2 separate regions of the Homo sapiens genome follow, and region 1 is linked to region 2. Evidence: promoter capture Hi-C in 16 types of primary human blood cells and fetal thymus (Javierre and others, 2016). All regions are on one chromosome and are shown on one strand. The core of a region is centred on a gene start or on the middle of the fragment in contact, and the rest is flanking DNA. Distances in the headings are between cores, read along the strand shown. Region 1 has its middle 42 kb from the start of ZNF800. Region 2 holds the start of FSCN3 (fascin actin-bundling protein 3).

Region 1 (6,421 bases), core at 3,362-5,861, 240 kb after region 2:
TTCAGGAAGAGAGGGTCACTGATTTATGATAAATAATGTTGAAAGTTAAAAAATAATAAGGGAAATTTATAAATAGCTGTTATTGCTGGTTACCAAAAATAGCTAATTGTATATTTACTTTTCCATTTGAGAAAGAATTGGCAGATGAAGTTTTCAGGGAAATCATTTACCTTCAGACTTGTGTAAAAATTTGTACTGTGTGTACAAACAGTTTATCTCAAGGCCAGTGAGAAGCAATGATGTTAAAATGTCAAACCACAAATGTTTGTTTCATTTTCTAAATTTTAAAATCTCCAACCTCAAATGCATATCACAGAAATAGTCTTTCATTTGTTTCTCAAAACAGCTTGTAACTATATATTTTTATCTTGATATGATTCATGATCATCTATATAAAAATACACCATTAATTTTGATCATTCTGGGTTTTTTTTTTTGGCCAGCTTATCTATCAGTGCAATTATTGCTTTAACTTTCAGAGAAAAATAGAGCCTGTCAGAACCGTTTGATTTTAGATCTTATGGACCAAATTGTGTCACAAAAGACAAATCCATTTAAAAATGTGTCCCATGCCAAATGTCCATGATAATATTCATAGAGGTTGAGTACTTATATTTGAACTTCATGTTAGATAATTAGTCAGTAATTCTGCTTTCTTCCTAAAGATGGCAGGCCTTCTCAATGTATTATTTACTTGGTAATTCTGTCTGAAAATACTATTAGACTCCAACCATTGTTGATTGGAAAAAAAGTTAATCAGACTAAAAATATATTTTCATAACACCATCATCATAGTTAAAATTCAGTTGTTGAACAAGTAAGATCATATTCTTGATGTTCATAGCTTTAGCACAGCTTTTACGTGTGTTATCCTCAACCCTGAACACAGGGTCCTAAGGGTTCTTACTGCATTCTGACTTTGGAATTCTTGATGTAAGATAATGAACAAAAAGTCTTGTCAAGAACTGTGATTAAGTCATGTTAGGATCCTGCCATATTTATAAGTTTCTCTCCTATGGAGATGATGTCAGAAAACAAAAACTGGCCAACAAAACATCCCAAAAGGAAACAACACCCCTAAGTAATGATGTATTGCATATATTTGTGGACATCTGAAATATTTTTATATTTATTCTTTGGTAAAAGTTTATATGTCCAAGTTCTACTTGGACTTTTTCTTTTTGCTTAGGTGACTGATTCTTTTAATAAGCAAAATAAGTACTTATCGGTGCCATTGGGGGGAAAAAACCACTTTGGCCTTATCTGCTGTAAAAACTAAGCTCACAAGTTAGTGCTCTAGAGCATGGAAAAACACTATATTTTGTTCCTTTTCTCATCATTTCCATTTCTAATTAAAATGGTTATTGTGTGTGTGTGTGTGTGTGTAATCGTGGGATTTTGCTGTTTAAAGAAGGTGGACAGCAGGACAGAGGGCAGGCTGGCCTCCCTGCCAGGCCTCACAGGAACTTTGATGTGGCCACTGCTTTCTAAGGCTGACCCTGATTATTGGTTCATCCAGAGAGGTAACTAGGTATTAGAAGACTGTATCCCTTTAACCGGCTTCATAGTAGTGTATAAATTCCACAATTCAGTTCTTTAATTTGAGATGGGAAGTGTCAGGCACAATCATTTCTCATGTTTATGGTTCAGTGCATTTTCTCCCAATAGGCAAATCTACATGAAAAATAAATTATAATCAGAAGGTTGCTTGGTGAGCATTGAATCAGCTCTCAGCAACCAGTGTCAGTAAGCTCTGGTAGTGCAACACACTCATCTTCCCCATAGGAATGCAACTGCCACTCAGACCAGATATTGTTCAATATGCAGAGCATCCTTTCTACTAGACCAGGCTGCAGATGCATGGCCAGCTTTTGCTTTCTTCATTTCTTTTCTTACAGAGGTATTATAGACTTTCTCTTTTGATACTTTTTTTCTATTAGAATTTAATGCAGTTGAGTTGATTAATGTATGTAAAACACTTAGCCCAATTCCTGGTATACAGTAAGTACATGATAACTATTATTATGAATAAGCATAACTGGTTTTGAGTCCAAGTCATCTTGTTACTTGTAATATCAAAGACAGTCTTTTGGGCCATGTTTATAGATGAGTGTGATCCATCTTTTACATTTTGAGTTATTTTCATCCTTTAATTCTTTTCATTTAATTCTTCAATTTTATTTATCCTTAATGTTGAATCCATGAGCTAATTAGGACAATGCCTTTGACTGTATGTGATCTTGCTATTGTTTTAACTTTAAGATTTTTATTCTTTTAAATTTCAGTTTCTTGCTCTGAAATACCCCATTCTCCACATTTCCCCCACCTGTCATGTGAATCTGTTGGAAGAGATGATCTTGAAGTTGCTGCTCAGTTCCAGAATACATTTGATTTTACATCTTATTTGAGTATATGATGTCAGTTGTAGCCATTTCCATCTAACTGTGCTTGCCTTCATTTTAAGCTCTGCTTAAATTCTTTCTCATAGAGTGTGAAGTTATTTTGAAAATGGTAGCAACATCTGAATCCTTAGAAGGATGGCCATGGCACTGGGAGGTTGTGATTGAAAAGTCCATGGGTAAATGTAGGATTTCAGCAGTCAGCAGTGACACTACAGACCTGACAGATACACAACTGACAAATCAAAACATTTGTGTGAAAATGAGTACAGAAAGGAATGATTCAGATGAGTCAGTTGATCACCCCAGCAAAAATAATCATTGTCAGTCTTCTCTCCATCCATCTGGGAAGTGAGTTATTCTTTTAAGAGTTGCAAAGAAGATTCAGGAAAACAGGAAAAATTACCACAGCTCTTTCTGGTGCTTGTAAAAATACATAATATGGTGCATTTTTAAAGGTGGTGGTCTCAGAACCACATTTTGAGAACTGTCAAAGATAGGAACCATTGTCAGAGTTCAGAAGAGAGATCATTTCAGGCTGCAGTAGTCAGGGAAAGCTTAATGAAAGAGACTGGCTTTGGTCTAGGTCTTGAGAGATGGACAGGATTTGAATAGATGAGAGCAGGGAGAAAACATTTTTCGATGGGTGAAATGCCAAGAACAAAAGTACAGAGGTGGGAAACAATAGTGTAAGGGGAGTGCAGAATCAAATAGTTTGACTCAAAGGTTCTTAAATGTGGTCCATGAAAGAAAATTAAGGCCCTACTTCTGTCAAATGACATCACTCACTTCAGACTTGGAAGAAATGGGCAGCTCTGCATATTTCTCTTCAGCATGCAAATGAATGAAACTGTTGATGCCTCTCAGTGCATCCAGCTTCACATTTTCATGTGCTTGCTGATGTCATCAAAGGAGAACTCCATTTAAGAACACCTTTTGGAAACTGGAAAGACTGTCAACATCTTCAAAATATTCGTTCTCAATAAATATTCAAATGGAAGAAGAAAAATTGCACTCTGGGGGCAGCTGGTGCACCTGTGATGTCAGCAACACAGCATGGTTTTCCTGCTTGATGAGGAAAGGATTGCTGCACGTCATTGTGCCTCGGTGCTTTCCATATCAGCAGCTGTTACCACCTTTCCAAAAGGTGTTGCCAAGAAACAGGAGCAGGGTAAGATGTTTTTCTCTAACCAGACAGAAATCTGCTGACTTTCCAGAAGTCTAATTGAACTTGAAGGCAGAGGAAATAATGTGACTTGAATCTAACTTGAAAGTCTTGGAGGAATTTGGTGTTACAGTGTGCAGGCCACCTTAACCTGGCAAATTCCATTCTATGCAATTCTGCTTTCGTTCTATTAAATACGTACCTTTGTGAGTCAAGGATTTCAGCACTTGTTGCCATAGGGAAAAAGTTGTAATGGGTTATCAAAGATGAAGTATATGTTGCTATGTCAAAAGCCAAAGCACAGTTTCAACTCATTTAAACTAGATCTCATTGAGATGTACTACTGAACAGTCAGAATTTTCTAAATTTTTTTTCCAGGAAACAGTCATTTTTCTTTCAAAAGAGAACGGAGGCATAATCCTTTACAAATATTGCTTATGTTCAGTAAATCATCTTCCAGTGCAGTGAAACGAAGTAAATGGTGTATGCACTTCTGCGCATGTTTCTGGAGGAGGAAGTCCATATCTTTAGTCAGAATCTCTATCGATTTAGCTATTGTGGAGGCAGTAGGTTGCTCTGGATAAATCTGAGCAAAGGAATGAGAGGAAATCAGCTCATTTGAAGAATATGGGATGCGAAGCTTTGACACGACAATGGCGAGTAATTTAGGGATTCAGGTTATCCCCCGCATCTGAGTAATCTGAAGGTAATTTTCTAGCTAGAGCTTCTCAAAGGTAGGAACCTTGTGTTATCTTTTTTGTTCATACTGTCTGAGCACAGTGCAGGAGACATAATAGGGACTCCAAAAATGTTGAGTTAAATTGAAATCACTGTATGAATAGTGAAAGCTGGACTGTAGCACCAATAATAAATGCTCTTCTGTCTTATTTGTATTTAACATTGTTTGGTTACATCATTTGGGGAATATTAAGGTTTTTGAGAGAAAATGTTTTATTAAAAGCTCCTATAACCTTCATTTTATTCAGGAGCAGGTGGTTAACACAAACTTTTGGCCTTAAGAGGATTTATTCTCTTTGGACATTTTATTTATTTCTGATAATTTTTACCAAAAGTATGCTTCCAGACACAATAATTGTATCCAGTACCTTCAGGGTGAAGGAAACTTACAGGATGGTGTGATTACTTATGTCATCTGTTTAAGCAACAAAGCAACATTCCAATAAACATCTAATCTTGGATTTGCTCATCATTAGATAAAATCAGCCTGACAACTCTGAGCTCACTTCAGCTTAAAATATATCTGAAACTTACAGAGGATCTTCTATCAATCTAATAACAAAGTCCTGGAACCCCTCTCCTGTGTTATATTATTATAATTTTATTATCACTTTTATGCATGTTCCTGGAACAAGGCTTAGCAAAACAGACTCCCTAGGTATTAACTTAAAATTTTAAATTAATTTATGATTGGGAGACCAGGATGTTAAGCTTAGATTCTAGTTCATTGCCATATTTTAGTTTTGATCCCATTCAATTATTTCAAACTAAAGAGAGATTCATTGAATTACTCTAAAACATTGGTATGATCTAAAACATTTGTCCCACATTTTTCTGTTTTTAGCAAACTGTGTGTTCCCAAGTCTGGAAATTACAAATCAAATTACATTTCTCAAAAGCCCAGATTTTTTTTTTTCTAAAGTGGAAATTATTACTAGAGTTAAATAAGATATAATGTCACAAAAGACAGTAGCTTTGATTAACTGCAAAGTGTTTAAGCAATAAACTCTTCTGTAATACTGTAATTTACGCAGAACTTTTGAGGAAGATAAACTACTTTTGTGGACTCTTCATTTTTTAAAATCTTTTGATGTCCACCACTTTGCTACACAATAGAAAAGAAAGATTTTCATAAATTTGAATTGAGATAAATATAGAATGGGTACATAAGAATGGAGTAAAATTCCTTGTATTATATTTTTTACTGTAAAACAAACTTGTATGAAATTTGGGAAACATAAGTTAAAAAAGCGTTACCTGCAGCTTTATCACCTGGAGATAACTGCTTAACATTTTGATGTGTTTCTGTCCATTATTACATATGTGATGTGTCGTGTGTACACACATGTACACGTAAGTATACACTCACATGGTACAAATGGGGATGAAACTGATTTTTTTCATTGCATATAGTATCAATTCTTTTCCATATCATTACGTATTATTTCACAGCATTATTTCAATAGCAGTTTAGTATTCGCTGTAAGAAAAAGACTATAACCAATACCTTATTGTTGGGTGTAGGACATTCCCATTTTTTTTTTTTTTTTGCCATTTTTTTCTGGCATTTTTTTTTTCTATTATAGATACTGCACTGAACACCCTGTATGAAAAGTTTGTAGGTATTCATAATTATTCCTTAAGGGAAAATTCTCAAGCTAGACTTTCTGGGTCAAAGAGTATTCAGACATTTAAGGGTTTTGATACATTTTCCTAAATTGCCACCAAGTTGTTGCATGAGACCTGAATTGGATCTGTTTTCCTATGACCACCGCAGTTTTCTCTCTTGGCACCCTGTTGGGCGAAAGTGGCACCGCACTGCCCGTGGGTCTGCAGCTCTTGCGGGGCTGAGAGGCGTCGGCGCTCTTTCCTTGGTTTCTAACCCGCATATCTTTGTCTTTCCTCCCTGGGGACCGCTGCCACCCGTGCGGGCCGAAGCCTCGCGAAGCCGTCGTCCCGCAGCGCCGCCGCCCTGCGCCCGGCCGCCCCCGGGAGCCGCTGCCTGCCCGCGGGCGCCGTCACCACGCGTCAGGCCGCTGCCAGCTGCCGCGCCAAGCTCCGCGGCGGCGCCGCCCGAGAGCTCCAGCACGCTGCCCGGGGCCTGGGGAAGCCCGCGGCT
Region 2 (7,166 bases), core at 3,278-5,777:
TTCCCCTTCCCCCAGTCTGTGCTGTATCCCAGAGCACAGCATAAAAACTACGCCAGGATATCATAGGGAGAGAAATAAACCTCAGTCTTGACTCCAAAATCATTTTAAAGTAGATCATAGGCATAAAAGTGAAAGTTAAACTATGAAACATCTAGAAGAAAACATAAGAGAAGTTCTTTGCAACTTTGGGGTAGGCAATGATTTCTTGGGACAAGAAAAGCAGTAACCATTTAAAAAAATTGATAAACTGAACTTCACTGAAATTAAAAACTTGCTTCTCAAAAGATCCATTAAACAAATAAAAAGGTAAGCCCCAGGTTTGGAGAAAACTTTTGCAATACATATATTTGGCAAAGGACTTGGATTTAGAACACATGAAGACCACTTACAACGCATTAATAAGACAAACAACCCAGTAACAAATGGCAAAGCATCTGAATAGATATGTCACAGAGAAGATATACAAATGTCCAATGAGCACATGAAAACGGGCACGGTGGCTCATGCCTGTAATCCCAGCACTTTGGGAGGCTGACACGGGCAGATCATGGGGTCAGGAGTTCGAGACCAGCCTGGCCAATGTAGTGAAACCCCATCTCTACTAAAAATACAAAAAATTAGCTGGGCATGGTGGCGCATGCCTGTAGTCCCAGCTACTTGGGAGGTTGAGGTAGGAGAATCTCTTGAACCCAGGAAGCGGAGGTTGTGGTGAGCCGAGACTGAGCCACTGCCCTCCAGCCCAGGCAACAGAGCAAGACTTCATCTCAAAAAAAAAAAAAAAATTCTAAACCTTACTAATTATAAGGTAAATGTGAATTAAATCCATAAATTACACACCCACTAGAGTGGCTAAAATAAAAAAGACAATCCAAAAGCCAGCTTTACTATTGGTGAGGATATGGAATTCTTAGAACCCTCATACGTTATTGACAAGAATGTAAAATAGTATAATCACTTTAGAAAACTGACACTTTCTTCCAAAGTTAAGCACATATCTATTATACAACCTAGTAATTCCACTCCTACATATTTACCCAAGATAAATGAAAATGTATGTTCACAAAAAGACTTGTACATGAATGCTTATAGCAACTTTATTCATAATAGCCCAGACTAGAAACAAGCCAAGTGTTCATCAACAAGTGAATAGATAAACAAATCATGTTTATGAGCAGCATTATAGAATACCACTCGGCAATAAAAAGGAATGAACTACTGACACACGAACATTATGTGAACGAACCTTAAAAACATTGTGCCAAGCACAAGAAATGTATGTACCATACATACTGTATGTTTCCATTGATCAGAAACGCTAAAGTAGGTAGGCAAATCTAATTCACGGAGACAGAACACAGATCAGTGGTAGCTGGGAGAGGGAGGCAAGGGTGGAGGGAAACTGACTGCAAAGAAGCAGGAGGAAAGTTTGTGGTGTTGGAAATATTTTCTCACTTGTGATATGCTTACGGCATGGTTGCATGGATGGATACATTTGTCAAAACTTACTGAATTTTATACTTAATAGGTGCATTTTATTTATAAAACATACATAATATACTTATTTGTAAATAATATACATAATTTATACATATGTGTATTATATAATTTACAAACTTTCAAATTATACCTTAATAAAGTTGATTTTTGTTTTTTTTTTTTAAAGGAGCCCCCATTGGGTGAAAATGAATGTTTATCAACAAGTGCCTCCACAGCCCACATCATCCTCTCATCATTTGCCTTGAAAAAGGAGAAGGAAGTCTAGGGAGGGAGAGCTCAGAGCTTAAGGTTTCTCTTGCTCAGGAAGCCAAGGTCTCACCTGGGATAGGTAGTAGCCATTGGCTGAACGAAGCTGCACAGTGGGGCTCTCACTGTCACATTCAAACTGGAACAAGGACATTCGGTTTAAGCGCTCAGAAGCAGCACGCACCTCACCATCTGCAGAGGAAGCGCATGTCAGTAAAAGCCTCCCCTCAGTCTCGGCCCCTCCTCCATGTTTTATGACCGGGGCTTCTGTCCCTCCCTCCTCAAACTTCATCACTTTCTGTTGGACCATGGTAGGTCTGGAGAAGACCTAGGCAACTTTCCCCTAAATCCCATACCCATGCTTTTCTGTCCTTCTCGATGGCACAAAAGATCCCCTTGGGTCCCCAGGATCTTCCTTATTAGCAGACTCAAAAATCTGTGCTGATCCCAAACACATTTTCCTCTTTTTAACAGCCAGCCCTCTCTCCCTCCATCTGTGTTGGGTCCAGCACTTGCCGTAGATGACTGAGATGAACCGCCCAGTCTTTGACCTGAGGCTGACCCAGGTTGGGCAGTGCTGTAGGATGAACCACTCCTCACCCCTCATGGGGTTGCAGCCCATGCCCAAGAGCAGATGCGTGCCCTGTGGATATAACATGCCTCCTTCTCCATCACACAGTGCCACAAGCCCTCCAGGCCGCACTTGCATGTGAAAAGCTGTCTGTGATGAGGGTTGGGAGAACAGCCGGTCTACATGGGACAAGAAGTGGTGTGTAGAGGTCTCCAGGTGGTAGCATCCATCTCGGAAATGCAACAGGAAGCCACACTCCTCCAGGCAGGGAACTGCTGCGTCCACCCAGATGCGGCCCATAGTGGGGTCAGCCCGGGCATAGCAGCGGTGGATGGGGCTGTAGAGGATCACGTGGACATGGAGGGCTGGTCGGGGGGTCCACATGTGGTAAGCTGAGAGGACGTGGGAAGTGCAAAACACGTCCTTGCCATTGGACTCCAAATAACGACCAGAGATTAGGCACTGGAGGGTCCACTTGCTGTTCCGGTGGAAACGCAGTAGAAAGCACCCATGGTGGCTGGTCCTTGGGCGGCCATAACACACGGTGCCATCACACTCACACAGCAGGTAGAGGCCCTGCACGCTCTTTAGTCGCACCACGGCCTGTGTCTCATGCTCATTGCTCACCAAGATCTCCCAGGTCTGGAGGCATCAGGAGGGAGAAGAGGGAAATCAGTATCACGAAGTTACCAGACCAAGGAGCCCTGCAACTGTCATGGCTGGTATCACCCTGGCACCTTCATCAGCACCAGCCACCTCCTCTTCCACATCAGCCCTGGTATCTCCTTGCTGTCAGCTCTTCCACTTTCCCACTATCCCCTCATCAAGAGATCTCTGGGCCCTTCCACCCCTGCAGCCAGATGGCACTATCCAAAGAGAAGTTCTAGATGTCTACCTCCTTCAGCTAACAGAAGGTAAACCCTCCCTCCTTTCTTAATCCCACTCTTCAATACCTAATTTTTAAAGAAACGCTTTGGTGTAAGTCTTACTTTTTTCTTCCTCACTGTTGTCCGCAGAGAGCACACTTAGCCAATACCTCCATCCCCAAAGGTTGCCTTCCAGCATGGCAAGACAGAAGCAAAAGCTCTTATAGGCAGGCCCTGGCTCCAGGGATGAAGATGGGAGCATGAACAGTTCAGATGCAACTGCCTGGTTCAGCTGTGATCAACCTTGTTATAAGAGGAAGAACTTTGCCCCTGCCTCAGTCTGGCACCCATCCCAGAGGTGCCTACATTCCTCTCTAGAATGAAGACCGACACTGCTAGGGCTTCTGGAGTTCCCCATTCTCAAACCACAACCAGAACAGAAACATAGGCTTTGCAATAACTCCACTGGTCCAACTTCCCCTGGATGCCCACAATTCTGCTTTCCCACCTGGGCTCTCCACTTCTCCTCTTTCTGACACAACCACCCTGTGCTCTCCACTTCTCTTCTTTCTGACACAACCACCCTGTGCTGGGATGGGGAATAGGGACAGTTAGAGCAGGACAAGGCAGCAAGGGCAAGGCTGAGGCTTCACCTTGCGGAATAAATTGAGAGGTGGGAGATGGGGCAATAGGGTCTGTGAACAAAAGCCTAGAGTAGAAAAGTCTCAGGCCTGGCACTGGCAGAACCTAGGAAAGTGATTAGGTTGAGAGTACACCCTGCTTTCATATACAGGCAAGTGCGCACACACACACACACACACACACACACACACAGCTTGGCCACTCAGAAAACTGGTTCCAGTATACTTTCATATACAGGCAAGTACACACACACACACACACACACACACACACACACACAGCTTGGCCACTCAGAAAACCGGTTCCAGTATACTTTCATATACAGGCAAGTACATACACACACACACACACATACACTCACGCACACACACGCGCGCGCGCACACACACACACACAGCTTGGCCACTCAGAAAACTGGTGCCAGCATGGGTTTGCTTTGTCACCTGTCTCCTGCCCAAACTCTTCGCAGTTGCAGTGACTGTATTCTTGCATGCCTCAAAGGTGAGGTAGGTTCCTGCCCAGCTGATGAGCCCAACCCTTAGGTCCTCAGCCTTGGGATGTCTGTGTATCCACTCTGTCTCATCCATGGGGCTGACACCACAGGTGATGTCTCCGTCTGGCCCAGCCCTCCCCCCCGTGGTGAGGTTCCACAGGCCATAGGGCCTGGAATAGGGCCTGTAGTACCCACCAGATGTTCCCAGAGAGAACTTCCCAGGCAGAGGCTGGCCTGGGGCCCAGCACCTCTGTGACCCGGGAGCATTGTGACTGTGAGGGCAGCCTCTTATCACACCACAGTGGGGAAAGGGCCCTGGCGCAGCAGCATTAATCCATGGCCTAGAGGAGGCGGGTGCAGAGCCTCCGGTGTTTGCCTTCCTATTCCCCTTTGGGCACCAAAGTAGGCTGAGCTGAGACCAGGATCCGGAACTTCAACCTGTGAATTTAGGCAAGTTTTTTCCTTTCTTTACCTCCGTTTCTCATTCTGGTAACAGGATAGAAAGCAACCTCCTTTCTCCCAAGGAAGTGAGTTCTGCCTGGCTCCCTTGCAACTCAAGTATTTTGTTAAGTTCAAGATAACCAAGAAAAATCTATCAGCTTTTATGGCCCTTAGGAGGATGAGGTCAAAATGTTCCAGATGCTATTTTGCAGGGAGTATGAGGAAACCCTAGTTAATCAGTTGACATCAAATTACTCATATTCATCAGGAAGGCTGGCTCAGGACCTGGGTAAGGAGAAGGGCCTAGGTGGAGAGAGCACCAAGCACCCCTCCTCAACCCCAGCTGCTCTGCCAGTGGGTAGGACATCTGGCTGGGCAGATAGAGCTCCTGCAAGGGTATCTTTCCCCTCCAAAGAATCTCTGAGTTATAGTCTCTTGGACTCACTTCCTGCAAAGCTTGAGGAGAAAACCCAGCTCAGAACCTGGAAAAGTGACATGAAAGAAAAACAAAGGCAAAAACAAGTGATGATGAGTTCTGCCTAAGCCTGGCTAGGATCCAAGGGAAAATGGGCAGTCGATCACACTTGGGGAATAAGCCACACCCCTGGTTCCTTTTTCTGAGTCAGGGTCTTGCTCTGCTAGCCAGGTTGGAGTGCATCTCAGTTGACTGCAGCCTTGATCTCCCAAGCTCAAGCGATCCTCCCGCCTCAGCCTCCTGAGGTGCTGGGACCACAGGTGTCCATCTCCATGCCCAGGTAATTTTTTATTTTTGTTTTTTGTAGAGATGGGGTCTTGCCATGTTGCCCAGGCTGGTCTTTAACTTCTGGGCTCAAGCAATCCTCCTACCTCAGCCTCCCAAAGTGCTAGGATTACAGGCATGAGCCACAGTGCCCAGCCACCCGTGGTTCCTTATACCTGCTTTCCTATTCCCCATAGGAGGGGTCTTCCCAAGTAGCAAGAGTCTCAGTGGTGTGCAGCAAGGAACTACAAGCCCCAGACCCCACCGATGTTTTATAAAATAAGGGTAATAGACTATTAGTGGCAGAATTCCCTGGGTAATTTTATTTATTTATTTAATTTATTTATTTATTTTGAGACGGAGTCTCACCCTGTCACCCAGGCTGGAGTGCAGTGGCACGATCTCAGCTCACTGCAAGCTCCGCCTCCCAGGTTCACACCATTCTCCTGCCTCAGCCTCCTGAGTAGCTGGGGCTACAGGTGCCTGCCACCACGCCTGGATAATTTTTTGTATTTTTTTTTTTCTAGTAGAGATGGGGTTTCACCGTGGTCTCGATCTTCTGACCTCGTGATCCGCCTGCCTCAGCCTCCCAGAGTGCTGGGATTACAAGCGTGAGCCACTGCGCCCGGCCTCCTCTGGGTAATTTTAAAGATGCATATTGTTGGGCATCAGACTAGTCCTGATGAATCACATTTTCTGAAATGTACCTCAGGATTCGTATTATTAACGCACATTCTCTCCCCCTCTAATTTTAATGTGTAAGGCAAACATTAAGAACGGCTCTAAGTAGCTACGAGAATGATGGGAAACAATTACGTGGTTCATGGAACTATGAAGGGAGATCCTGTAATCTTCAGCAAAGGCTCCTTGGAGCTGGGAAGGAATGAGATTTGCACCACTGTAAACCCTACAGTATTTCCAGCCCAAGAATAAGGAGGGAGAAGCTGAGCTGAGGGTATGTGTGGGTGGGGTTGCCCTGCAGCCTTAGCTGCTTTGATCCTCTCCCACGTTGTCTCTTGGTACCCAGTAACCTAGCCTCTCCTTTGCAGGCTACAGACAACACCGTGTACAAACCACAGCAAATTTATTACTCAAGATCCAGTGCCACATTATAGCACCACCCGAAGCCCTCACCTTCCCCCTCCCAACCTGGCCCCTAGAGTACACCCAAAACAGAAAAAAAAAAGGAAACCCAGATCCCTGCTCCTCCTCTGGAAGAGGGGGCCTTGGCCAGGAAGCCCCTTCCATAGGTCCCAGCAGGCAGGAGAGTGGACCCCTCTGTGCCCAGAGAGCAAGGCTCCAGGCTCCAACAACAGAGAGAACATGCAGGCAGGAGCAGGAGCAGAGGCCTGTGGCTATGGGGGAGGAAAAGTGGGAGGAAAGGGCACTGCCTGAGGAGTCCGGGAGTCTGGTCATCCCGGGGATGCACGCAGGAGCTTCCGGGCATCAGGGGCCTGCCCCTGGCTGGTTAGCGCTTTGACAGCTCGTGGGACAGCCAGTCCAGACCATCGTACAGACCTGTGCCTTGGGTGGCACAGGTGGCCTGGACATACCACTGTGGGGAAAAGGAAAGAAAGAGGTCAGCAACCAGGAACAAAAGGAATGCCTTTATATCTCTGTCCCAGCCTGCAGCTTCCCTCAAGAGGCAGGATTCAGCACCAGGTGGGCAGG

Evidence for each region. Contacts are between HindIII fragments. The CHiCAGO score rates a contact against its expected background, and 5 or more counts as called.
Region 1: a fragment that was not itself captured here is called in contact with the fragment with the promoter of FSCN3 in region 2 in 1 of 17 cell types (naive CD4 T cells); the score reaches 5.0 in naive CD4 T cells.

Annotation. Positions count from the first base shown.
Region 1 is chr7:127,347,863-127,354,283 of GRCh38, reverse strand. It overlaps a transcript of ZNF800 not described here. Among named protein-coding and RNA genes, the nearest start is that of ZNF800, 42 kb to the left of the region's middle. RefSeq lists a silencer at 6,154-6,421. The HindIII fragment of the contact is 809 bases long and covers 4,207-5,015 here.
Region 2 is chr7:127,591,097-127,598,262 of GRCh38, reverse strand. FSCN3 (fascin actin-bundling protein 3) reads right to left here and starts at 4,527. Exons shown (of 7, transcript NM_020369.3): 1 at 4,266-4,527; 2 at 2,260-2,956; 3 at 1,817-1,935. The coding sequence starts at 4,409. It overlaps ARF5 (ARF GTPase 5), which reads right to left. Exons shown (of 6, transcript NM_001662.4): 6 at 6,563-7,050. The coding sequence ends at 6,964. LOC105375489 (a long non-coding RNA gene) reads left to right here and starts at 6,023. Exons shown (of 3, transcript XR_007060513.1): 1 at 6,023-6,134; 2 at 6,259-6,450. The HindIII fragment of the contact is 6,131 bases long and covers 1-5,214 here.